5 separate regions of the Homo sapiens genome follow, and regions 1, 2, 3 and 5 are each linked to region 4. The links are contacts of gene promoters, found by promoter capture Hi-C in blood cells and fetal thymus (Javierre and others, 2016). All regions are on one chromosome and are shown on one strand. The core of a region is centred on a gene start or on the middle of the fragment in contact, and the rest is flanking DNA. Distances in the headings are between cores, read along the strand shown. Region 1 has its middle 520 kb from the start of LINC01966. Region 2 has its middle 540 kb from the start of LINC01966. Region 3 overlaps TEX41 (testis expressed 41). Region 4 holds the start of QTMAN-AS1 (QTMAN antisense RNA 1). Region 5 has its middle 850 kb from the start of LINC01966.

Region 1 (5,153 bases), core at 513-3,012, 1.5 Mb after region 4:
CCTCTTCTTGAACTGCTGGGTTGAGAAAGCACTTCCATCTTAAAGTTATCAACCTTCCCATAAGAGGAATAACCTAAGGCATCTGTTAGTGGCAGTGTGTGAGACAGCAGGGGACAAAGCAAGTGAAGGGAAGGCAAATACAAGCTTCTTGGTTTGGATACTCCAGAATCCTGGGGAGGGCAGATTACTTACTCGAAGTGTAGAATAAACGAGTATTCTACTTGGAGTTAAGGGCAGAGGTCTAAAATTCCCTGAATTCAGTTATCAATAAGAGATTAATTCATTGTTCTTTCTAACTGAAGGGGATGTTGAAATCATATGTCTTGCATTTTCTCTTGAAATCTTTATCCCTGCACTACACATATTTTAGATATCTCTTCCCAGGACCATTGACAAGGGGGTTCTTAGGATTAGTGGCCACTGTGGTCAGCAGGACCTGTACTGGACAGGGTGTTGCTAAGATCTCAGAGTCAAGACCTCCTACCACACTCTGGGCCTCTCAGCCAGCCCCTTCACAGCAGTTTGAATGTGTATACGGGCACTCATGCGCATGCACGCATGTGCACACACATACATGCACTCACGTGTGCATGAATATATGGATGTCATTGGATATCAGCAATGGATGTCAGCTGACACCCTCTGGAAGTCTAGACAATTTATTTAGATAGATATACTCCTTCTAGGCTCTGGTAGACTCTGAAGAAGAAATCCAAGTGCCTTGCCTCACTCACATCCATCAGGGGCTTCTTTACAGGCAACTAAGTGGCCAGTTCAAACACATTACCTTTCATTCAGCTATCGACTTGGATATTTACCATCTATCCCCCAGCTTTCTGCTCTCCAGCCACACAACATCATCCTATTCCTTCTCCTAAAACTTTACTTTATGTCTGCCAGACTCCCCATTTAAGAATCAACAAGCACAGCTCCAACCTCAGTCTCCCTATGCAACAGTCTCCCATGTTCTCTCATATCAGAAATCTGGTACTCCTCCAAGAAAACTCTCTACTTCTCTTGAGTAAAACCTTCTCATCCTTCTGAATTCCATGTGCATTCATGGAGTGTTCTTTCTCCCAAGGTGACCTTCAGAGCACAAAAAAGGATACAAATGTGTCGTAACCAAGGGGATCTGGGCAGAAAATCCATGTTACACACTACAGCTGTTAATCCTTTTGCTTCATGAAGTCTCTTCTCAGTCCCTTCTGCCTTTCCTCACTGAGGTGGGTTAAAGATGGCAGCACATTTCTTTGTCACTCCTCCCAACCAGAGGATTCCACATCCTCTCTATTTGAATCATGGCAGGTTCAGTGACTGCTTGACCAAAAGAATAAAGCAAAAATGATACCATGTCACTATCTGGGCTCAGGCCTTAAGAGCCCATCCACTTTCACCTCCTGCCTCTTGAGATAGGTGTTTCCGGAGCCAGCCAGCATGCTCTGAGAAAGCACAAAGCAGCTCCTTGAGGGACCCATATGGAGGAAAATTGGGCTGCTTCTTGTCAGCTCCAGCAAAGCTCCCAGGTAGCAGCCAGCACTGACTTCTCAGCACTACCTTGTAAGTGAGCTATCTTACAAGTGGATTCTTCAGTTCCAATAGATTCTCCAGGTGATGATCTGTGAAACTGATGAACTCTTTCAAACTCCAGATTTGTGAACATGTTGTTTTAAGCTGCTAACTATTGGGGTAGTATATTACACAGCGATATATAAAACCAGAATATTTGCTTACCTATCTAGCGTAAAGTGGCATATTCCATTACTTCAATTCTTACAAATAGTCCTATCTTCAAGTCTCATTCATCTTTTCCTGACCCCTCTGGAAAAAATGTTTACCATGAATCAACTCATCTGTCTGACTGCACCCTATCTACCTCATGTTGCTGATCACAACTATAATTCCACAGTTTCCAAGTTCAGATGGTCGTACATGCTGCTTAGAAATCAAGGATTTCCTTATCCACGCTCTCTTATTTTCCACAAATGTTTTAAGCCTACTCTCCTCTTCTCAATCCTTTGACTGAGAAACCTAATCCCTCTTTCAGCAGATCAACTTGACTACCAGTTCAGAGCAAAAATAGAAGCCACCAGATGGAAACTCCTCCCACACCCTGCCAATTATTCTAGCGGCTTCCCTCCCCTCTTTCCTTCATCTTTAGCTCCTTCTCCTTTTCTGTGTTCTTCCAAGTAGCACTTAACTATGGTCAAACATTTCCCATATTAAAATAAAATCCAAAGACACTTTATTCCCCCATTATCCTGCAGCCTTGATTCATAGATCTCCTAACAACCCAAACATCACCAAAGCACTCTTAGATGCACTGCTTCCATTGCTTCCCATTTTATTTCCTTTGTACCCACTCTAGCTCTTACCTTCCCCATGGCTAAAATTGATCACAGTGTGGTGGCTACATATTCCCTTATTAATGCATCCTCCAGATAACCTTTACCCCTTATTCAACTTGATTTCTCAGCAACCCTTGATTTTGTTGCCCACTACTCTTCTGAAATGTTCTGTTCCTTTGGCCACTGTTATTTATTCTCCAAATTCTTTTCCTAGCTTTCTGGGTGCTCCTTGAAGCCCTCTTTGCTGCATCTTATACCTTTCCTTGCTCATTAAACTTGGTATCATTACCAGTTATATAGAGGCAGGAAGACCTATTTCACATATTTTTACTGGATGACCTCATGTGATCACATAATTTCAAAATTCGTACTGCCAGCTGAGATGTTTTTCATGAGATCTAGGTATATATATCAATATGCCTACATACTACTAACAGATTTACCCCCAAAAAACTTGCCAGAAGAAAATATATCATCTTGAACACTAAATATACTTATTTTCCTTTTTTCTCAAGTAAATGGTAAGACCATTCTCTCAATCACTACAGAAACCCAGGCATCATTTTGACTCTTCTCTCTTCCCTCATCCTACACACCTGACCAATGACTAGTCTTATGAGTTATACATTTGAACTGTTTCTTAAATCCCTAAATTTCTTTCCATCCCCAGTTTAGTGAGGAATTACCCGTTTAAATTAATATCATAGCTTGCAAGTTGTTTCTACATTGTTACATTGTATTTCTAAAATCAAAATATGATCATGTAATTGTCTCCATTAGGAAAACTTTTCTCAGTGACTCTTCCTTTCAAGGACCTGCTTATCTCTCCTGCTTCATCCTCTAGGTCATCAGTGCTCTCTTCCCAGCATTCAAGCTGTGTTTGTCCCAGCCATGTTAATGAACCTTTACACAATTTTTCATTATATGACATGAATCACATAATATGACTAACGCTAACAATCGTGTTCCCCTTACTCACCCACCAGAGCAATCCTGGTTACCTCTTTGGCCTCAGATTAAACTTCACTTCTTCCAGGAAGCTTTTCTTAAACTCTAAAGTCCAGGTTGTACATCCATCATATGTGATCTTCTAACACATGGCTTGCCACTCCAGATAGTACTGATGACATCATCTTGCAATTTCCTACCTTATCCTCAGTAGATCCCACTAGACTGTAAGCTCTGTGAGAACAGACAGTGTGTTACTCTTGTTTTGAGTTGTATCCTCAGTGCATGGCCTAATACCTGGCACATATTCAACAAATATTTTTTAATAAATAAATGAATGACCTTCCCATTTCTTTTCTGATGTAAAAATTAAGGCCATCAGAGCAAATTAAAAGATATTACACAGTAGATTTTAGGTGTCCTTCCTCTGTCAGTAATTCAAAGCCTCATTTGATGAGGGTTGTTCTGAATGTAAAGTTTTGCACTTACACAGAGTACAGGCATTGCTAAACTTTGACCAGAGTGTGGGATCCAGGTCCCATTTTCTAACCTGTATCTCAGATTCCTAATACTTTATACACAGTCAGGGCCAGAAGACAAGCATTCTCTTTCTTACTTTTTAAAAAATGCTGTTCATGCAATAAGCTATTTTCTTTGGTATTTAAATAATTAAATATAGATTACAAATTTTTTTGGTGAATATTACACCATCTATATGAACTGTTCATCAGTTCTTTGAAACATCTCTGAGGCTGTAGTTGCTGCAGTAGCTACTTCTTGACAACTGAAATAAGTGAAAATTTGAACATTTGTTCAGTTCTGTTGATAGTCTTAATCATTGAACCTCAACACAACCCATCCACTAGAATTTGAACTCCTGGTGGACCATGACTGTTTGTTATTAATCTTTGCAATTCTAGCAAATGTAGTATTTAGTAAAAGGAGGGTAGTTAATACCTGTAAGATGTGTGCATAGTTTTAAAGCTGCTCAATTTATTGTGAAAGTAGTAAATAAAAAAGAAAAATTAAATCCATTATTTTACAATCTGCTTATATAATTCAGGCCTACTTTCTAGATATACTAGGAGTATGAAAGCTGGTTAACTTTTCTGAAAAATAGAAAGATACCATGAAGAATTAAGGAAAGATGTTTTTTCTGTTTGCAAATATATTCTATACATAAAACTTACCATTATTATTCCTGTAAAAGAAACATCATCAGAAACATAAACTCAGAGGTTGTTCAGTCTGCATTTTATTACTGTAAAGATGTCTATTCACACAACTGCCAATTGCTTTGCTTTTGATAAAGCTACTGTAATTACTTTTAATTCCAATATAAATTCCCTTTGTTGCAAGAAAACACTTAACCTTAGTTATGTTAGAAAGGCAAACAACATAAAAACTGACTATATACATATTTAAAATCATAAGCATAAAAATACTAATTAAGATAGAACATTATACCACAGCCCCTATAATAAACACAAATTAATAATCCAATCAGGAATGTGAGCACCTTCAGAAAATTATGACATGACTTATATAATTTTACAAAAAATTAAGCAAAATGATGTGGAATTTGGTTAATGACCTAGTTAATTTTTGACACCTTTGAGGATTTCTTTTCAGACTACAAAAACAAAATCTTCATCTGTTAATAAAGTAGGTTAAAAAAAATAGTTCTATACTTTGTGGTTCCCAAAACAATCAAGATATGGAGGGATTTATTTAAAAACTGTCAACCAGAAGAAACTAGAGAATACAAACAAAATTACACTGACTATTCTTTAAATAAAATTCTGAGATAAAGACAGACATGAGGCATTTCTGACAGACTCTTGGAGATTTAAAAAGAGA
Region 2 (5,209 bases), core at 382-2,881, 1.5 Mb after region 4:
ACTTATGTAAATTGCATCGCTGCATTAGATTTATCAACTGTATGTAACTACTTATGTTACATATTTTTCAAGGTACATTTATTTACCCCTTAGAATTCATTCAGGTATATAGAAACTATCATTTTCAGTTCAGTGATTAGAAAAAGTGGCAAAGAAATATATTCAATAAAACAAATCAATTTAAGAACAATGCTAGAACTTTAATATCCGTTCTCTTCCTGTCTGATATGCCTTTATTGTCACTGAAACAATTTAATTTTCCTTTTCATAAAGTGGGGGGACCTTAATAGTTCTTTAGTCACCTGCAGAATGCCCACCACTGTTTGCTGCCCAATTCAGGCCTTTGGTATTTTCAGCACTTCAAACAAATTTTATTATGGAATAGTTATTTCAAAACAGGTTAAAATTTAACCAGAAGAAACCCTGTTTTCCTGGAAAGCTTAAAAGTATTACTACATTTTTCTGGATGGACAGTCTAGAGAATTTAATGCAAATACCTATGACAAATGGCAGGTCTCATTCACCTTCCATTTTGAGGCAGCAACCTAGTTGCAAAAAAGATATAAAGAACCTTAAAGTGTTAAGCAATAAAATATTACTTAAATCTGTAAGTTGTGCTATGCCTTTTCCTTTATCATTTAAATTTCTCTAACTTTATTTTCTTTGTTTGATAGGCTTACTGATGTCATAAATATACTTTATAATTATAAAATATATGTTACACAAGTAGTGATTTTGTAAATATTTAGTGGTTTAGCTTAACTGAACATTAATTGAATTTTGTAGGGGCAGATTCCATTTTTCAGAAGCTTCTGATTTCTCCCTCAAGTAGGTATTAGAAAAAAATATATCTTTGAATGGTTTGCTCTTTGCATTTTGTAGTTGCTTTTGTGCCTTTTTGTGTTTAAATTTCTCAAGTTATGGGTTCCTCATGAGAGCTGACACAACATAGTAAAAGATCTAGATGGATTGGTAGTAAATTCGTGGGTAGTTTTCTTTTTAATAAAGTCTTTGTAAGGTTTGTAAATGCCTCAGGCAACTTATTCTTCTTCTTCACCCTTGTCATAAGGGCAGGTTATGAACAAAAAAGAACAAATATTTCTTACAAGAGTAGTTTATGTGTGAACAAAGCAGTGCATTTCAAGTAGCCTTTTGTTGAAAAAAAACACTTAAACTTTTTTTCTGCTTCTAGTTACTGTATATTAAAGAAAATAAAAAACCAAGACCCATAGTATACCCTTATGGGTTTATACACTTCCGAATGTTATGAAACATAGAGAAATTTAGCCACAGAATCTGAAGCAAAGTTCGCCAATGATGTCCTGGGATTTGATCATTTTCTAATATTTTATATGGTCTGAGCAAGCAGTGTACCAGTTAAAAAATAAAAGTGTGTGCTAATATTGGCATTATGGCATCTCTTCCGAAAGCATCACTCTACAGTGCCAATGATGCCTTAATATTTCCTATCTTTGAAAGAAGTTATGTGATTTCTCTTTTAAAGCTACAGCCACTTTGGCAAATTACTTGCTCCTCCTGCTCCAAATACTAACCTATAGCAACAGATGTTTCACTGGTAAATATAAAGACATAGCCATTGTATGCTGTTTTAATTATTTTAACGTCTGAAATTTTGAACTTTAAGGTATTTGTTTAAGAAGCCTTCTCTAAATTCTAACCCATCCTAGTCTGCAGCTATTCATTGACATAACAAGCTAATTATGTAAATTAAAAATAAAAATAAAATTTTAAAAAAATTCACTCATTTCCAATGGTCATAATAGGCCACAGGCCTCTGTAATTTGGTTTCAGGAATACAGAGCATCTTCCACTCAAAGGAAAGGATCAAAAAGTGTCTGGAATCCTACCATTCTATTTAATTAAACTCTTCCCATTTTGTTTCGATCTGTTTAAAAATACAAACATCCCAGAAGAAGAGGTCAAAAGCACAGGCTGGTATAATTACTCCAGTCTTTCCTATGAAATAAGAAATATGCAAAAAGGAAGATAATCTCATGTAGCATCCTGGAACAAGTGACATCAGCAAGATGGTGGATAAGAGTTTTCTGTCATGATCTCCAAAGTGCGCTGATTTTGACAATGACCCATGGACCAGAATACATTTGTAGGAATATGCAGGTTTAGCAAAGAAGATTCAGCACACCACTGAAGCAAAAATTCCACCAGCAAACACGCAAAAGAGGATAAAAATAATAGCTTTACTTTGCCCATTTTGCCACTCCTGCAAGTCTACACAGCTGAGTGCCAAGAGAGACCCCTTGGCCCATGATTTTTCTTACAGGAAAAAATGAGAGCATAATGAACTGGTGCTCAGGTCCCCCAGCGTATTAGCCTGTTTTCACACTGCTATAAAGAACTTCCCAAGACTGGGTAATTTATAAAAGAAAGAGGTTTAATTGATTCACAGTTCTGCACGGCTGGCAAGCCCTCAGAAAGCTTACAATCATGGCAGAAGGTGAAGGGAAAGCAAGGCACCTTCTTCACAAGGAGGCAGGAAGCAGAATAATTGCAGGAGGAACTACCAAACACTTATAAAAGCATCAGATCTCAAGGGAACTCACCCACTGTCATGAGAACAGTGTGAGGGAAACCACCACCGTGATTCAATTACCTCCACCTGGTCTCCCTTTTGACACGTGGGAATTAGAAAAACTACAATCCAAGATAAAACTTTGGGTGGTGACAGAGCCACACCATGTTATTCTGCCCCGGCTCATCCCAAATCTCATGTCCTCACATTTCAAAATACAATCATGCCTTTCCAACAGTTACCCCAAAGTCTTAACTTATTGCAGCATTAACTCAAAGGTCCACAGTCCAATGTCTCATTGGAGACAAGGGAAGTCTCTTCCACCTAGGAGCCTGTAAAATCAAAACAAGTTAGTTACTTCCAAGGTACAATGAGGGTGAAGGCATTGGGCAAATGTTCCCATTCCAAGTGGGAACAATTAACCAAAACAAAGGCTACAGGTCTCACACAATTCAAAATCTGGCTGGGCAGTCATTAAATCTTAAAGTTCCAAAATGATCTCCTTTGACTCTATGTCTCACATCCAGGTCATGCTGATACAAGAGGTGGGTTCCCACAGCCTTAGGAAGCTCCACTGATGTGGCTTTGCAAGGTCTGGTCCCACTCCCAGTTGCTTTCATGGACTGGCATTGATTGTCTGCAGCTTTTCCAGGAAAACTGTGCAAGTTGTTGGTGGATCTACCTTTCTGGGGTCTGGAGGATGGTGGCCTTCTTTTGACAACTCCACTAGGAAGTGCCCCAGTGGGGACTTGTATGTGTCTCCAACCCCACATTTCCTTTACACACTGCCCTAGCAGAGGTTCTCCATGAAGGCTCTACCCTTGCAGCAAACTTATGCCTGAACATCCAGGCATTTCCACACATCCTCTGAAATCCAGGTGGAGGTTCCCAGACCTCAGTTCTTCACTTCTGTGTACCCACAAGCCCAAAACCATGTGTAAGCCACCAAGGCTTGAGGCTTTAACCCTCTGAATCAAAGGCTTCAGCTGCATGTTGGCCTCTTTTAGCTGTAGCTGGGACACAGAGCACCAAGTCCCAAGACTGTGAAGCAGCAAGGCCCTGGGCCCAGCCCATGAAACCATGTCTCTCTTCTAGGCCTCTGGGCCTGTGATGGGAGGAGCTGCTGGTGGTAAGACCTCTGGCATGCCTTGGAGACATTTTCCCCCATAGTCGTGGTAATTAACATTTGGCTGCTCAATACTTATGTAAATTTCTGCAGCAGGCTTTAATTTCTCCCCAGAAAATGGGTTTTTCTTTTCAATCACATCATCAGGCTGCAAATTTTCCAAACTTTTATGCCATGCTTCCCTTTTAAACATAAGTTCCAATTTCAAGCCATCTCTTTGTGAATGCATAAAACCAAACATTTTTAAGAGCACCCAGGTCACATGTTGAGCACTTTGCTATTTAGAAATTTCTTCTACCAGATACCCTAAATCATCTCTCTCAAGTTGAATGTTCCACAGATCTCTAAGACAGGGCCAAAATGCTGCCAGTCTCTTTGCTAAAGCATAGCAAGAGTCACCTTTGCTCCAGTTCCCAAGAAGTTCCTCACCTCCATCTGAGACCATCTCAGTGTGGACTTCGTTGTCCATATCACTATCAGCATTTTGGTCAAAACCATTCAACAAGTCTCTAGGAAGTTCCAAACTTTCCCATATATTTGTATCTTCTTCTGATCTCTCCAAACTGTTCCAACCTCTGCCCATTATCCAGTTCTAAAGTCACTTCCACATTTTCAGGTATCTTTATAGCAATGACCCACTCCCAGTACCAATTTACTATATTAGTTCATTTTCACACTGGTATAAAGAACTGCCCAAGACCGGAAAATTTATAAAGGAAAGAAGTTTAATTGAATCACCATTCTCCATGGCTGGGGAGGCTTCAGGAAATTTACAATCATGGTGGAAGGCAAAAGGTAAGCAAGGAACCATCTTCACAAGGTGACAGGAAGGAGAATGAGCACGGGAGGAACCACCAATCACTTATAAAACCATCAGATTTTGTGAGAACTCATTGTTATGAGAACAGTATAGGGGAAACCAACTCCATGATTCAATTGCCTCCACCTGGTCTCTCCCTTGACATATGGGGATTATGAAGATTATGGGGATTACAATTCAAGATGAGATTTTGGGGTGGGAGACAGCCAAACCATATCACCCATCTATGTGGGAAGCTGCCTAAGAGGCTCACTTCTTTCTTTTACCACCAAGAATATTGTGGGTATTAACACAGCTAAATGTCTAGGAGAGGCTGAGAGCAGGGAAGAGAGTCAGATTTTTATAGCAGCCAAAATTTGAAACTCAATAGAGGACTACATATACTGCTAACCTCTTCTTAGACTTCATCAGAGGTCCAACCATGAGTCACATGGGACTCCTTGTCTGTGGGCTCCAGCCAACTGGCCTGTGGGTTCCCCCAGCATTCCAAGGGCCTTATCCACAACCCTCTACCATCCCATGGCTGGCTCTCCACATCCACATGTGCACCCTAGATGGTGAGTACAAGCCTTTGTAGACAGATAGTGAGCCTGTGCAGACAATTAGCTAGATTCAGTGGGATTGGGAAAAGGCATACAAACTTTATCATTTCAGGTCACCACCCGAGGCAAAATGAACAGAAGACTGTCAGCACACAGCCTTGTTTTGGGAT
Region 3 (5,921 bases), core at 744-3,243, 1.1 Mb after region 4:
ATCTCCTACTATATATCTGATGAATAGTTAAAATTCAATAAATATTTATATAATAAATTAATTAAAAATAGCATCAATAAAAAATCTGAAGATCAGAGGAGAGACTTAGAATGACTTTATAGATTTGGAAGTCGTTAGCATATGGATGAGATTGAGGTCAAGGGAGTAGCTGCAATAAGCACAGGTAGATAATGTGGAGTGAAATGAGAAGGGACATTAAAAAGTATCTGGGGGAGTTGCAACTTATTAGTAGATAAGGAATAGACAGAGGAAACTTAAAAGTAACTTAAGAAACAGAGGAAAATGAACCTATAAACACTACAGAAAACAAGAGCCAGAAATAAATTATATCAATCAATGTTTTTATAAGAAACAGTGGCTGAGTATCTTATACAAATATAACTTTACTGAAGAATATCCGGAGATAACAGAAATAATGAGGATATGGAGAACTAGGTTTGGAAAATGGGTATGAATAAACCAAGCTCTGGAGAACTGGATAGCATAAAAGACAATAAATGCAATGCAGAAGGAATTGGGAGAGGGTTGTCACTGCCAGTAAATGAAAATGGTCTCTAACTATCCCTACATCTGGACTTGATCAAGCTTCAAGCCCTAGGAGAAAGTATCTGATTAACTGAGCCTTGCTTACAGCACTGCACCTTGTTCTAGGGAAAAGAGAAGGTTTTGTCCCTTCAGTTTCCATAAATGAGAAGCAACTGTCACCCACCAAAACTCCATACCAATGGAGCATTCCCCAAAAGGTAAGTAGAAATGACAATAGGAGGGGGAGGGTAGAGGTTGAGTTGAACAACAACAACAAAATGACAAAGGTCTTTATGAGACAAAAGATAGAAAACTGTGGCAATCTGGTAAATACAGATAAATTTGGGTAAGAGATAAAAGCAAATACTTATTCATTGGCAGTAGCAACAAGAGGATTATCGGTAACTTAGGTAAGTGCAGTACGAGTAGAGTGCTGGAAACCAGTAGTGCTAGAAACCAGGGAAGAATAAGTTGAGGTGTGAGAGTTGAGTGAGAGAGTAGAAATAAGGTAGACAACTCTTTTAAGAATTTTAGTTTGCAGTAAAACAAAACTTAATTTGTTTTATGTTTTGGAAAATTCAGAATGGTAGGGAAAACAATTCACTCTTAGGTAGGGATTTTTTAATTCTGATGGTCAGGGTAGGAGTTTTAAAGCTTGCAGGACCATAGATGGATACATTTCTGTATCTGGGCATTTGTCTATACACTGGAATCCTTTGCTCTTTTTGTAGGACACCAATAAGTTGCAGAACTCTTTAAGTGCCTTTGCCTTTGCCTCTTAAGGTCTTGGCTAATGATTTACCACTTTAATGCCTTAATGTACAGTGCTGTTATGCTTAATGTTGGTGTCTTCATAGTTAGAACCTACTAGCGTTGGCTACTTAAGAAGAATTAAAGAAGTCCAGAGCTCCAGCTACATAATTTTGTTTCTCATAAGGATCCCAAGAACTAGGATTTCAAGCACATTGAGGACAGGAGCTATTCCTCACAGTACTGACCACAGTATTGAGCACAAAATAGTGCCCATGCTTAGGAAATACTGATTGATTAGTTTATTGATTTTTGAGAACATTGACTAAAGTGACATTTACCTACAAATTTTCACAGAAGTTATTTTTGTTTTCTTTTTTGAAGTTTCATTTGATATATTTTTTACTCCCTTTATCAGCTCCCCTATGCAAAGCTGTTATGAAAAAGCATGATAAGGTGTGCATTTTTGCACTTTAAGAATAAATTTTTAGATTGGAAACATTGAAAACAAACTGAAACCAATGAAAAGTGTATTTTACTGACTTATATCTAAAAATGGCACTGCCCAATTTAAGCTATTTTTAAAACCTGTATATTCATGCAGCTTGCATACCAAAATGAAAATTGGTGAGCTATAAACCCTTGAAAAACAGGGTTTATAATGGAAACAGTAATTGACCCTTAAGTACAACATCAAAAATACAATACTATATAATACAAAGCCCAGGGCTTGGGATCCCATCTCTGTTCTAACCTCAGACTGGCACACTAACCCAACACCACAAAGCCAACTAATAGTTATATTTTGAGATGTTTTCTTCTTACATGGCAGAGAAAATGGATAAGCGATCCAATAGCCACATGCAGCTAAGTTTCACAGAACCAGCACCCTAAATATCTTTAATAAACTCACAACTCTTTTTCAGAGCCAATACCCAGTAAAATAATTGGACTTACTTGGAAAAACAATTTATTTATTGTTTTTAAATGGAAACTCCTACTCCTGAAGTCGTGCCATGTTGCATCATGGTCTTTGGGTATGTGACATTATACCACAGGATGCGGTGAAGCTAGAATGACCAGTTGTCAGGAAAGCTCATGGAATCACGGAACATACTCAGAATATTTAGAGTTGTCTTCAACTTTGCTCTAGTTCATAGTTGGTCCAGTTTTCCCATTTTCTAAACCACAACTACCCATTTTTATCAAGAGAAAATGTGATCTAAACTAAAGAGAAAAATGCAAGTATTAAACTTGATTAATGAGATCTGAAGGGTATATTCAGATTCCGGGTTTCAATTTCAACTTGGCTCTAGGCAAAGAGGGGTGTGTGCACACATACAAAGAATCTTAGCCGATACTCTTTTGTTGTTGCTGTTATGGTGTGGAGGGGAAGGGGTTAAGGGAGTTTATTGCTAAAGAAGGAAAGTTCAGAGATTCCTTTCATTTTAAGGTTGAAATATGTGAGCATTGCCAGCTTATTTTTTTAAGAAGCTTCCAAAGAATTTGTCAGCTGAAAATAGTCAAGATTTTGCCTTCTAAAATGTCATCTATTTACACAAATCGAGCAGGACTATTTGGTGTTTCCTTCTTGGGCATTCTGTTTCTGTTGCATGTATAACTTATGAACTTGTAAAATGAGTGAAATATTATTGATTTCATTTATCTACATAAAACCTCTTCGTCTATTCTGTGACCAAGACACTAACTGAGCTTTGGAGTAAGGACCGTGGGAGAGGTTGGAACTGGGACAGAGAAGGGTATTTTCTTTGTGAGAGTGTTCAGAGGATTTTAGAAGCGATGGTGTCTTTTCTAGGATTTAGCAGTTTTGCTAATTGTAATTAAAATGTTGTCTTTGTATGGTGATATGAATAGCTAATATGCATCTTAAAATTTCAGTGCTTAAAAATAAATACAAATCAATTCTGATGTTACAACAGAGCACTTTTATGGCATTTTTCATGCCTTTCTTTAAGTACTAAGATCTGTCTCAGATAACTTCAGGATATTATGATTTCTATTATTTACTGAATGTTAGATTTTTTTAAGCGCCCCCCACACACATATTTGAACACAAATACATACCTTCTTCCCTATTTTCTCTCTTATTCCCTATGTCCTTCCTTATAATTCATTCATATACTGTATTTGCTTCATCCTAATTTCTACTCTTCGTGAATTCTGTATTTTCTTTCAAGGCTTATTACGACTACACATAAATAATTATGTAGTGGGTTACGGTTTTGAAATGTTAGCTGATACATTACCTTTTATATCCTTATACCCTTAGTTCTTCCCCTAAAATTCAGGAAAGTAATAACGTGGTAAAATGCTAAGTAAAAATTGGTAAAGTCTTAGCTTTTGAGTTTCGAAAGCCTATTTTTCTGGGGAAGTAGAAAAACTCAGGGCATAGACAAAACATTTGAAAAACTACCCAATACATTCAGAGCCAAGCTGCCTTATTGCCATTAGTTAAAACCTTCTCAGCCTGGGGAGGTGTACAGAAAGTTGGAAAATAAACATTGAAAATTTAGAATGGGTGGGTCCCTGAGAAAAGAACAAGACCCTGCGTCCTTCTCTTTGGTTAGTCCTTGATGGGTGGGAAGAAGGATGTGTAAGGGAGAGGGAAAGTGGGGCAACAGTCACCCAAAACAGGATATGTCAAAGCACCGGGTCTCACGCAGAGCCAAGGCTTCAGGCAAGGACATCAAGTGTCAAGGTCACAGCCTGAATGGGAACCTCTGAGATGTCTGGTGTCCTGGTCTTCACCCACTAGTCCACACGGGCTGCTTCTGGATCCTGCCTGGCAAAACGGTTCAGGACTGGTGGTTTTTTCTTTTTCTCTTCCTTTCCAGGCCCCCTCTTGCATCTCTGAGCAAAATTCTGCCAGTCTCATGGTCTGCTGGGGTCACAGGAATCTCTGAGAGGCCTTTTGTCATATTTTTGGCTACGCTTAAGCACATGGGCATTATGCTACTGTCATGAGATGCAAACACTCTCTGAGCCAACTCAGATCCACCAGGCCTGACAGCCTGCAGCCTGCTGCTCCCACCCCCAAGTCTCCACGTGGGAAAGGAGCACCAGTCTCCTCACACTCAGCCAGCCAATCTAAGATTTCTATTTTTCCCTTGCCTGAACCTGACTAGGTAGAAGAGGAAGCAGATAGCCAGAAATCTTTCTTCAGGACTCACTCAACATGTACCCTATCATCCTCTAGGAAACTGAATACTTTATCTTGAAATATGATATCTTGGTTCTAACTCACTGATTAATACATTTTTTACAACCTGAGGTTTATTTCTTTGCTTCCTTTTGAGGACTAAGCTAAGAATAGACTTGTTTGTTTGAATTTTTTTTTTTAATTTAAGTTGTGGCATATTCCTTTCCTGAGGCAAAAGCATAGAAGATATTAATTGGCTAAATAAAGAAAGTCTAAGAAAATATATAGAAAATATATGAATTCACATTTCAAAATATCACCCTACCACAATTATTTGTGCAGTTATTCATTTAATACACATCTCTCCTGCTAAAATATAAGCTCTTTTGAAGGCAGTATCATTTTTGTGTTCATCACTCTATGCTCAGCAACTTGTACCATTGCCTGAAACATAGTAAGTGCTCAATAAATATTTATTGAATAAATGAATAATAACATAGTAAAAAAATGCCTAAAGCAATTCTTGTTACTACTAGGTGTTACTTCATCCATCCATAATGCAAAATTAGAATGAGGTAAGATACAGTGAGCCTTTTTGTTTTTTAACCATTGTTGATCTGAGTGAGATTTGAATAATCTGTTGAGAGAAAAATCATCATTTAGATTAATGTAGAATTTCTAGCAAATTGATTAACTTAGAGTAGTTAAAAATTCTTTTTAAGTATAACTCTGCAAGGTACACAAGGTTATAATGAGGAACACAAGACTCATGAAAACTTTGTTCCTAGTTCTGAGTATTAGTTATAAAGTAATTTTCCTTTTTAAAAAGAATGCTGTAAGGTTTTTATTTTATTCTTGGCTCAAAGCAAAATTTCAGGTGAATTCATCTTTGATTCTTTTTTGAGGTGCTCTCTAAAACTCTATTTCAATAACAATTACCTGCTAAAAATTCCTACTCCCTAGGCTGTTGTATCTGAATGTAGTTCTCATTGACCTAAATGGAGAGGAAAAGTGTGTTGCCGAAGGGAGATACTCCAGAGATTCTCTCTTCTGTTGTGTCACAGAAGTGTGTGTGTGTATTTGTGCACATATGTGCTCAAGAGTCACTAACCTACATGTTTTCACCCATGCAAGAAAAAAGAATTCAATTCTGGGAATTAAAAACTAGACTTAATGTATACTTCCAACTGTATAGAACATACAGATTAACAGAGGAGAATATTCCTATTCTACTCAATGATTCCATAGAGATAGACCTGGAAGTTTCTTAAACATTGTTGTGTATGTGTTTGTGTGTGTTTGTGTGTGTGTGTGTGTGTGTGCGCGCTAATCTGTGGGCAATGTGCATGATTAGAATGAATCAAAATATTATAGATAGTAGCAAAATGGAGAGGTCCATTTCCCATAGATCATCTATTGATGGATGGCTGTTTGCTCTGCTTTACTCTGGATCTAATTCATACAT
Region 4 (5,197 bases), core at 1,690-4,189:
AACACTCAACTGAGAAGTAAAACATCCAGAACATGCCCAGTTTATTGGGAGTTTGTTTTCATATTTCTGCATGTGTTTATAAAAGCATTTCAAGATGTAGCTTTTTACTGATTCTACCTTGTTAAAAAATCAATCAAGCAACCATCATTTGCTAATAAATGTTTTTATCACAGCTTTCAAACCTTTTTCAAGACATCTGAGCTCATCTTCACTTCCTCCTTCTTGAAAAAGAGACCCCATGGTGTGACACTCTAAAACCACCTCTGGATTTAAAACTATGGCTGCCTGGAATTGAAGGCCCAGTTGCTGAGATTCCCTGATTTGCAAAGCAAGGGAGAGTTCCTAACTGAATAACTTGAGTTTGTAACTAAAAACAAAAACAAAAACCTGCTCATCTATTGCAAGTAAGTATACTCCCTTTGTTACATGGTATGCAATTAGATGCCTTTGAAATAAAAGGTAAGTTAAATCAGAAGTCTCGGGGACAAGAAAATACTATTTTAAAACAGGGAGTGTCAGATGTTTTTCAATTCAGTACCAAAGGGTATTTCACAGGTAATTTCTCAGGGCTGATGTTAGCTAATTATTAGCTACCATATCCTGCCTGCCATTCTTAGTGACTATCTCCTGGCAGAAAGACACAGCTAGGAGTGTTTTGTTTCATTTGTCCTTGGAGTTTTTATCAGCATCAAGAAGGTGGACTGAGCCAAAGTTAGAAGAATTCTGGAGCTAAGCAAAAAGCGACACGTTTAACAGCCCCCATTAATTGGGGCTGTTACATGATTAATTTGAGAAAAACAGAAGAGACCGATTTCTTTACAACTCACAGTTGGATGCAACGCACTAAAAGTAATCCTGTAAATTACATTTTAAATCTCCAACATATTCCGAGCAGATAAAATAGTGGCATGATTGACCAAACTCCTTTTAAAAGTACACATATTACGATGCATCATAGTTATAAACAGATGGTATTTGGCCTCCTTCCTATTCTCAACATTTGGAATTTCTAAACTATGTGAATTAAACAATAATATTTTATAAACATACAAGGGATTTTGCTCACTGCTTTGTTAACATAGAAATTATACAATGCTGACATTTATTTAAATTTTAAAAAGTAAACAACAGTGTGCATCGAAATAAAGCAAACTAAAATCAACATAGAGAAGTATGTTCTGTGTGCGTACTACCTACAATGGCACTGGCCTTTTAAAGGGAAGACATAATGGGTTGAAGAACAAATTGTAGCATAGATCGGCCTAATCCCTTGTACTCCAAGGCTCATTTAACACCTCTCTGTAAACAACGGATATTTATACCATAATTGGCTATTTGACCATCAGTGTTCATTTACTATGTAACCTGCTATTATGGAGTTAAAAGAAGCTCCCCTTCATTGGCTCGTCAGCTTTCAGAGTAGCGAAAGTGTCCTCGCAGTTTTAAAAACACTTACACAAACGGGAATCAGTCTGACACTTGTACTCAGAATGAGAAACATTATCATGATATCAATAAGTATATATTTATTCTTTGGGGGATATTATTGCCAGAAAGAAAAGGAAATATATTAGATCTGAGTGTCATTTCCTAAGATTCTTTTCTAAAATTATAGCTTTAACCCTTTAGCCGCAGTTTGGAAGGGAGACCCATCTGCTGATTTGATGTACTAAATAGAAGGCACTTGGTTTCCAAACACTATTCTCAGATTCGCAAAGTTGCGCTGTGATGAATAAATAATGAATCAGATATTTCAATCCGTTTTATGATTTTTGAAAGCCCTGATTATCATTGTTTACAGTCTCTTCTTAATGCACTTCCCATGCGTTCTTGTTCAGCCTTCCAAGAGTTGGTTTATGTAGGCCACCCTCTCCCAACCTCGCTTTACTTTTGGACTGCTCTCACGTGTTAACCCACCCGCTCACACCTTTAAACCAGTTTGGGGAATATTTCAAATCTGAGGGGGGAAATCTTGAGCGACAGATGACAAGGAGTATTCGCAAACACTCCAGGCTAATGTTGCTTGTATTTGGTCACAGGTGTGCCCTGCTTTTGCGTACTATAATATCTCTATTGGTGAGAAAGAGGGAGAAAATTATGCTAAAACCACATGGATAGAAAGGAAAACGGCACTGCTGAAATCAGGAAGGATCAGCATTCCTTTTCTCCTATACATACGTGTGTATACTCAGATAAATAATGATAAATCACGGCAGTGTGAGGGAGGCTTTTAACAAAATACAAGCTTCAAAATAGGAATATCTTCACAAGTTTTCAAAAAGCTAATCAGAGCAAATGAGTGACAAATCAATGTAATGCTTCTAAATATTCTCCTGCCCCAATATTGCTTAACTCCTCTTCTCCACTCCTCCTAAATAACCAGTTGGTGGTGAGGAGGAGAAATGAGGTTTGTATTTCAATATACAGGTGTGAAGTGAAAAAGAAAGCGTCCGGGGGGTGAGATTTAAATCACATATCCGAACATACCAGAGACAGGAGTTATTCTAAACTGTGTAGATAAAATCCCTTTCGGAGAGTCCCCGTGCCCATCCCCACTCCCCTTCGCGGGATTGCTGAGGGCAAGTTATGTTTTTTGAAAAGGTAGTAGGCATCGGTGTTTCTGGTTTTGCTTAGTGCGTCTTCATCGTATTCCCTCGCTGAGGACTGAGCCTGGCCGACTCAGGGAACCGAGTTCAATGAAATCCTCAGACGCATAAAGCACAGGGTGCCGGCCCACCGAGCTGCGCTCCCTTCCCGGGGGTGCCCGAGAGAGAGCACGCGAGCCCGGCGCAGCCAAACCCGGGCAGGGGTGGGTCCCCACCGCGTGTGCGTGTGCCAGCCTGGGAGTGTCGGCGCGAGCGTGGCGGGTGCGTGCCGGTGTGTGTGCGTGACAGCGCGCGCGTGGCAGGGAGTTCGCGCGCCAGGGTGCGCGTGCCAGCGCGGGTGTGCGAGGGAGTGCGCGCGGGTGGGAGCGCCAGGGGCTGGCGGGGCCCGCGCCCTGGGACGAGCCCCTCGTGCTCCGGCTCTGCGCTCCCGCAGCGCCCACGCAGCCGAGAGGAGTGGGTGATGACTTCGTGACCTCAACGTCCTCCCCCGTCCCTCGACATGTTCCCGCGCCTGAAAGGTGCAGAAAACTCCCCCCACCGCTCTGGACGAGACTGAGCTAGGCGTCGAGGGCGGGCGCCGCCGCAGACCGGAGCTCGGGCTCGCTGGCCGCTCAGGCGCAGCGGTGTGGAGGGAACGGACGCGCGGCAAGGCGACCCGCTCTGGGCAACGCGGGCGCAGCTGCCCCGACGCAAGGCACTAGCTGGTCGGGGGCTCGGGCGAGCCGGGGCCGGCGTGCCGGGGCGTGCGCTCTCTCGGCAGGCGAGCGCCGGGCTCCGCGGAGGTCCCTGCGCCCACTGCCTGCTTCTCCGCCCGGCGACCCGGAGTCCCCAGGCTGCGGTGCGCCAGGCCAGACCTGACCGAGGGCGGAAGACCCGAGCGGCAGGGAGGCAGAAAGAAAAGAGGTAGCAAGCCCCAGACAAGGGATCCTTAATTACAGATAAAAGGCAAACAAAACCGTACACCACATTTTCCACGTGTCAGCTGACGGCCGCGACAAAAGGAAACAGAACGCTGGGGGGTGGGGGGGAGGCCCCTTCTTAGCTGCCCCCCACCCCTTGACAATGTGTGCAAATGTAAAATGCATTAGGTAGTAACTCTGGATAGGTGGTGCCCGGGGCCAAATTGCAGCTGCACGCTCCATCGTGTAGGACAGTTTGCTGATGCACCCAGAGGTCTGGGGAACCTCTTACAAAAAAGGGACTACAAATACTCCGCTTGAGCACATTTTGCTTCTTAAAACTTCATTACTCATACATTTTAAGTTAAAAATTTTGTGCTTAAAGTGTTGCAATTATCTTCAGTAAAATTCTAATACACACACACATACACACAATTTTGTTTTGCAGTTTTGTAGATTCCATTTTATTGGCCTGGTATCACAGCATTAGAAATACAAGGGGAAAAGCCAAGACGATGAAAGCCAGGGAACATAGCTGCAAGCACCAGAGAGCACAAGTTCCCCTCCATGGCTCTGCGGCTCAAATGGAAAAAGGAGAGATGTCTGCTTTGATTTCTTTCCTTTTAATTAATCAGGATCACAAAGCAATCTCCACCCTGTCCCTGGGATTTAAGATACTGGTTAAACTCCACCGTGTCCCGAATTCTCCACAGAAGGTGGAGGAGTGTTCAGAATCTGAAGTCCACCCGCGGACCATTAAAAACCTCTAGGTCTGTGCCCTCATTTTTAACACTCAAATTAAAGGATCACCCTGAGCCACCACGCAGTGCACTCTTCTCTATTTTCTCCCTCTTGTTGCTGGGCCGGTTTTGGAAATTAGAAGGGGTGGTCTCTTTGTTAGCAATCTGTTTACTTTCTTCTGATACAATGAAGCATCAGGTCGAAGGTGACAAGGCTTCTTTGCTTAGTCATTTTTACCCATCTCTTTGTAGATGATGTTTTTTTCCATTTTCAATTTTTTTTTTCATCAATGCCATCTCCCCAACAGCATTTCAAAAATAAAATTTCCAAGTCCTTTTTTTAAATGTGGTTCCAGTCAAATGATTTACCCACACCCCAAATAATATTATTTACATCCAGTATTAATAGCTGCATATCAGTAATTCTTAGAGATCTTCTGATCCATATTTAACAATTTAAATGATGGCTAACATTATTGCCAGGCAAATGCCTGAACCAATAGTTTGTGGACTAGTTGCCAGCCAGATGACAGCCAGGTATACACAGGGTAAGAACATAATTAAGTTTCTGCCCTAGTCTCTTCAATTGCAGAAGGCAGACAACACTCTTTCTCACCTTCCAGGGAAGTAGATTAGCAGATTAACAAAATGATGTAAATCACATAAGCTTTACATCCCCCTTCCCCTTCTAATACCTATTTAGGAACACTTTAAAATTTTTCCTTTAGGCATCTAGTCTTTCTGTGGTTTAGCCACATGCTCTCCCCTTTTTGGCTTTCTCCTTCTGTAAAATAAGTAAGGTGAAAGAGCAGATTAGGAGTTTTTCTTTTTCTTACAGCTTTCCTGTGTTTGAGTGGATCATCCTGTTGCCATCGTTTTAGTCCAGTTGTTGTTAATTCATGTTCTTACCACCCACCAAAGAATAGCACAGGATTAAGTTTATATTAATAAA
Region 5 (5,622 bases), core at 2,149-4,648, 1.8 Mb after region 4:
CAATGGTGCCCAGTGGGCTGTGCAATGACAAGCCATCATCACCACAGGATACAATGGCCTTTGGAAAATGTAGCTCACCTAGAAATGCGTTATCAGGTGATAACAGCTTTGCCAGCTCATGTCACCCCAGTAGTAAAGTTTAAAAGGCTTTCAATGTTGAGGTTTTCTTCAAACTGCTAAACTGTGATAGGCAATTTAGCCTAACTATTCACAGCAGTCCTAAATCTATATTTACTAATGATTTCATCATGTGTTGAAAGGAATATACTTTGAAAATCAATTAAGGATATTGAAACATAAGAGCTTAACCCAGCCCTCTAGATGGAATGTCTTTCGAAAAATACACTAATCTTTTGATTCACAAATAATGAAGGCAACGTGAATATATTTTAGCTGTCTGAGGCTAAATGAAAATCTCACACCAGAGAACACTTCATGATAAACTAAGAGAAAAACAGTAAATCTTCATAAGATGCTGAGCCAGAAAAGCACTGTGTTTAGGAACACAAGTTGTAAGGCAAGATCTGGAACTTTATATGTGACATGAGGCAAAGGACTTACCCTCTCTGTACATGGATTCGCAGATCTTCAAAATAGGTATAATTATTGAATCTCTCTTAAGTTGGTTGTGAGGATTAAATGATATAAAGCATACAATGTTCTTAATGCAATATTTGCTATATAACAAATGTTTAGTAAATATTACTCATCATTAACATTATTATGAAAATTAAACAAGTGAGAAGAGACAGGAGAGTTCTGCTTTATTGCAAGTGGAAAAATGCAAGAAAGACAGTTGCTTTCAGTATTAGTGTGCTTAAGAATCACGCAGCATGGTGTGGTGGCTCACGCCTATAATCCCAGCACTTTGGAAGGCCGAGGAAAGTGGATTGCTGGAGCCCAGAAGTTCAAGACAAGCCTGGGCAATACAGAGGAACCCTGCCTCTAATTTTTGAAGACTTTTGGGGATACTTGAATGTTTTGGAGCAAAGAGTTAATATCTTCTTGGCCTTAGAAAGATGATATTGCAAAGTATGCATTGGGACGGACAGTAACTAGAGAGAAAAACTAGTTTGGAGATCATTGTGGTTAGACAGGCAAAAGATGATGAATTTAGGTCTCCATAAAGTAGACAGACAGAAAGAGATAGATGGAAGAAACACTACAGAAAACTAAGCAACTATAAAAGGGGGTAGGAAGAAAAATTACGTTTTTGGCCTAGAAGACTTTATAAAAGATGACGTAATAATTGAAACAGAAAACCCCCAAGGAAGAAGCATTGTCAGTGTGGAGGCGGAAATGTAATTGCCAATGAATTCTGTTCACATGTCCATGGCACATCTATGCAAAAATGTTCAATAGGCAATGGGAAGTACAAATCACAAACTTAAGAAAGATTGTCTTCCAGCTGGTAAGTGTAATTTTTGCTAAACCACATAGATGTCAAACCATGGAAAGAGAAAAACACATACACACATGTGACTTTTGAGCATGGAATTTAAGCCAATAGTACATAAAAATGTGTGTTGGGGAAGAGAAATGAGGCTATGAGAGAGCGATCAGGAAGATTCTGTAATAATAATAATAAGAAGGCAGGGCTTTTGAAGCTGTGGAGGAAGTACATGCAGGATATTTGAACAGAAAGTCATCAGAAAAGAGGTCATTGTGGCCAGGTGCAGTGGCTCATACCTGTAATCCCAGCACTTTGGGAGGCAGAGGCGGATCATTTGAGGTCAGGAGTTTGAGACCAGCTCAGGCAACATGGTGAAACTCCATCTGCACTAAAAATACAAAAATATTAGCTGGGTGTGGTGGTGCAGACCTGTAATCTCAGCTACAAGGGAGGCTGAGGCAGGAGAATCACTTGAACCCGGGAGATGGAGGTTGCAGTGAGCCTGCATCACGCCACTGCACTCCAGTCTGGGTGACAGAGTGAGACTCTGTTAAAAAATAAAAGAAAATAAAAGAAAGGAAAAAGGTCATTGTGTTTGGGTATTTGGAATATTACTTGACCAATAGCAATGCAGAACTTATAACATGAATTAACTTCCTAATAACCTCAGCTTTTAATTTTTATTAAAGAAATGAATACTATTTGGGGAATATGAGAACTAATTTATTATCCTCATTGTCATAGTTATAAGTTTAAACCTTTTTTATTTTAAAAATTCCTTGAATATAATGTTCTGTATAGGACAATTCATAAACACTGCTTTCCAGTTTTCAATTTTCAGAATCATTATATTTAACAAGCACAGAAGACGTTACTGGCTTAAAAAGATGCAAGAGTTATCAATTTTGTGATTTAAACATTATGGAATGATGAGAGTAGTTGGGATAAAGTAGGGAGGGAAAAAACTGGAGCAAAGCATAGGTATGCTAATTTCCTCATTTTACATGCTTGGTAATTCAGGAGATACCATCTACAATTTTGAAAATAGTGTAAATGTATCATTTGACATTATAAAAAGGCATGTCCCACTTCAAGATGACTGAACAGATATGTTTGCTTCTCATCCTTCAGATCCAATGAAAGGCAAGGCCTAAAATACAAAAATGTGATAACCCGTAAGAGTAAAGAGAATAGGTAAGAGGTATTCATGAGTAGATGAGGGTTTTCAATTTATTCTTGGACAAGTTAAAGTGGGTAGGTCAGAAGAAGTTACAACCCAGAACATACTTTGATAAGCTTACATTTCTGTCAGAATTCCAGGAGGACTTTAAATAAAAGTTTGTAGATCTGATGAAGAACAGAAGTGAAAAGTGGAGCTGAGAAGAAGATTAGCTTAAAATCTATATAGGGAAAAATTAGTGTCTTCCTACTCTGCTATCTCTATGCAAAGAAGGAAGCAGGTTGGCTTCATCCCATAGGCAAATTATAAATGAGTAAATATATAAATAAATTTATTATTTGGGTAGTTTCAAATAACTTGGAGAGCTTTAGTGTAGGTGCTGCTTCCCCAGGACAAAGCCTTCTGCAAATTGGAATATAAGTGTTCCAGGCTGAAAGCCAGCTCCTTCCTCATCCAACTCCAAACAAAACCTGAGACTCTATTGTTACTTCCAGCCATATTTCTCTCACATGGGTGATGACTATTATGGAATTTATCTGCTTGCAAAATAGCAGAGGAAACTCACATTTCATAAATCTTAAATATAAATGGACTGTCAAGAATCTCCAGATACACACAAAAGATACAACAAAATGGAGGAGAATACAAAGAAAAATAAATAGAAAAACTGATCTTTGAAAAAAATAATTCATAACTAGGAAACAGAAAAGAGCTTTAAAAATCACGTTATGAGATATCAAAATAGTTTTTTTAAAAAAATCATATACTTAGACCAAAAATAACACCATAAGAGGCATAATTGTAGAACAGAAAGAGGTCTTTTCACAAGCTAAAGAACACATCTTCAGTTTAGAGAGGCCCACGGCATGCCCACCAAAATGAATGAAAGAAAAGATTCATACTTAGACATATTCACTTACTAAAGAAAGAAAACTTTAACTTCCAAAAAATAAATTTAAAAAATTACCAGTTTTTCAATTACAGCTTTGGATTCTAGGAGATTGTGATGCAAACTCTACAAAATTTTAAAGGGAAATTAATTTGAATATTTTATTCAGTACCCAGCAAATCTATCAGATTTTTGTGAGAGGACAGAACACTTTTAGATACGTGAAAATTGAATCTTTTCCTTTCAGGTAATTTAAACAGTTTGTTGAGCTATACTAAATTAAACAAGGAAGCATATGAAGAGATTGGAAAATATATAATGTAGGAAAGAGTAGACTTCCAGCATGTCACGCGTGTGGTAGTCCTAGAGGAAAAAAAAAGTCCAGATTGAAATAGGAAAACTGAAAAATTCATAGGAAACTTTTCACATAAGCGGAGAATATGCAAAAGCTAGAATAATTGAGAAGCTGGAACCACAAAGTTAAAGACACAAGTTAAATTAAAAGGTCACCCCACTGTGGGGGAAAATAAAAATTTTAGGGAAAGATCTATGTAAGAAAGAAGTAAAATCATTATCCAAACACCAGGTGAAATATATGGTATAATTGTGAGCAATTGTTTAAGAAAATGGAATTCACTCAACTTGGTAAGCTTGAACCATGAATATTCTCCTTGGAGAAGAAAATGGATCTATAGCAATAGAAATATATTAGTATTTCTCACTACTTCACCCAACAAGGAACATCATATGGAGTGTCAAAATAATGTAAATGATACTTAGTGACTTTAACTTTTTGGTCAATTTTTGCACACAGCACAAATGGCCTGGTTATGTTTCAAGTAACATAACTTAAATGGTAAAATCATAATAAATTTGTTGACCAAGAAAGTAGAGTAAGTATGCTATCTGGTATAACCTTAATAAATATTTGGTAGTTTGGAAATATTTTATTATAATAGAAATATAACTCTTTTGTGAATGCTGTTATTCATACATATTTATATTAAAAGAAAAGTAAGCCAATAAAATTATAAGTAACTTTGACCTCTAGGCGTCTCAGTGGCGTAAAGATCACATAAGCAGTTAATAAAAGCATATATATAGCATGTAGTTTATATGATTAATTACCCTATACACTAAACTAGCATATATTATATGATGGACTTGTAAGGATTACAAATTCTATGATTGTATATATATTCATATATATACATATATGAATGACAATATTTTGGTTTACATTTTAATAAGCACCTTGTCACATTTAATCCTCAATCTATCCATGTTATAATGCTGGAAAGATTTTACATGTGAAATCTTGCTTTTCTATATATTGTAAATCAAAGAAAATTACTGAGGTGAGTCTCAATCATTTTAGAGGTTCATTTTACCAAGGTTGAAGATGCACCAAGGAAAACGTAACAAAAAATCACAGAAACATCTGTGATTCCTGCTTTTTCCAAAGAGGATTTAAGGACTTCAATATTTAAAGAGAAAAAAGGGGGGCAGTAGGGGAAAGAGGAAAGAAAAAATATGGGGAGGGTAGATAAAAGGAGCAAGTTGTTGCATTCTTTTAAGGTTTTGATCAGCCTTCACTGAAGCCACATATTACAAATGAAAGGAGGGGGTCGAGGAATAGTCAATTATGCTCAGTGAATTTGTAGTTTTACATAAGATAAAGTAAACATAGAGTGGAGGAAGCAGTCGAACATGCATTTGTCTCAGTTGAATGGAGTAATGACTCCTAGTCCTGTCCTTGTCCCATACCTGTGAAGATAAGTTGTTAATGTATATTGTCAGGGTAAAAGTCAACAGGACTGTTTCAGGGAATCTTGGGAACCACAAGAAATTATTTTTTGAACAAATTGTAAGGGAGGCCCCTTGGGGAAGTATGTAGCCTTTTATCTTTGTAGCTATCTATTTAGGAACAAAACGGGAGGCAGTTTTACTTTATTCGTTTCCCAAGCTTGACTATTCTCTTTGGCATAGTGAGTTTGGAGTTGTAAGATAATTATTTTCATTTCACAATGCATATGTAATATATCACTTACAGTACATCTTACATACTGTCTATGCTATAGTGGGAAGCACAGGACTTGGGATAATGCACACAGGATTTGGAATGAGATAACATTAGGTATGGATCCTGATTACACTGGC

Evidence for each region. The method cuts DNA at HindIII sites, captures the fragments that hold promoters and counts their contacts. A CHiCAGO score of 5 or more calls a contact.
Region 1: a contact is called between a fragment that was not itself captured here and the fragment with the promoter of QTMAN-AS1 in region 4, in 1 of 17 cell types (neutrophils). The highest score is 6.6, in neutrophils.
Region 2: a fragment that was not itself captured here is called in contact with the fragment with the promoter of QTMAN-AS1 in region 4 in 1 of 17 cell types (neutrophils); the score reaches 6.3 in neutrophils.
Region 3: a fragment that was not itself captured here is called in contact with the fragment with the promoter of QTMAN-AS1 in region 4 in 1 of 17 cell types (neutrophils); the score reaches 7.5 in neutrophils.
Region 5: a fragment that was not itself captured here is called in contact with the fragment with the promoter of QTMAN-AS1 in region 4 in 1 of 17 cell types (neutrophils); the score reaches 5.6 in neutrophils.

What each region holds. Positions count from the first base shown.
Region 1 is chr2:145,399,621-145,404,773 of GRCh38, forward strand. No RefSeq gene overlaps it. Among named protein-coding and RNA genes, the nearest start is that of LINC01966, 520 kb to the left of the region's middle. The HindIII fragment of the contact is 3,241 bases long and covers 143-3,383 here.
Region 2 is chr2:145,417,058-145,422,266 of GRCh38, forward strand. No RefSeq gene overlaps it. Among named protein-coding and RNA genes, the nearest start is that of LINC01966, 540 kb to the left of the region's middle. The HindIII fragment of the contact is 1,648 bases long and covers 808-2,455 here.
Region 3 is chr2:145,034,122-145,040,042 of GRCh38, forward strand. The region is part of intron 3 of TEX41 (testis expressed 41); the gene reads left to right. The region is part of intron 3 of LOC100505498 (a long non-coding RNA gene); the gene reads left to right. Among named protein-coding and RNA genes, the nearest start is that of LINC01966, 160 kb to the left of the region's middle. The HindIII fragment of the contact is 1,590 bases long and covers 1,199-2,788 here.
Region 4 is chr2:143,934,128-143,939,324 of GRCh38, forward strand. QTMAN-AS1 (QTMAN antisense RNA 1) reads left to right here and starts at 2,940. Exons shown (of 3, transcript NR_110237.1): 1 at 2,940-3,509. It overlaps QTMAN (queuosine-tRNA mannosyltransferase), which reads right to left. Exons shown (of 12, transcript NM_001376312.2): 12 at 3,941-5,197. RefSeq lists an enhancer at 2,364-3,047 and a silencer at 3,242-3,441. The HindIII fragment of the contact is 2,667 bases long and covers 2,244-4,910 here.
Region 5 is chr2:145,730,445-145,736,066 of GRCh38, forward strand. No RefSeq gene overlaps it. Among named protein-coding and RNA genes, the nearest start is that of LINC01966, 850 kb to the left of the region's middle. The HindIII fragment of the contact is 1,423 bases long and covers 2,688-4,110 here.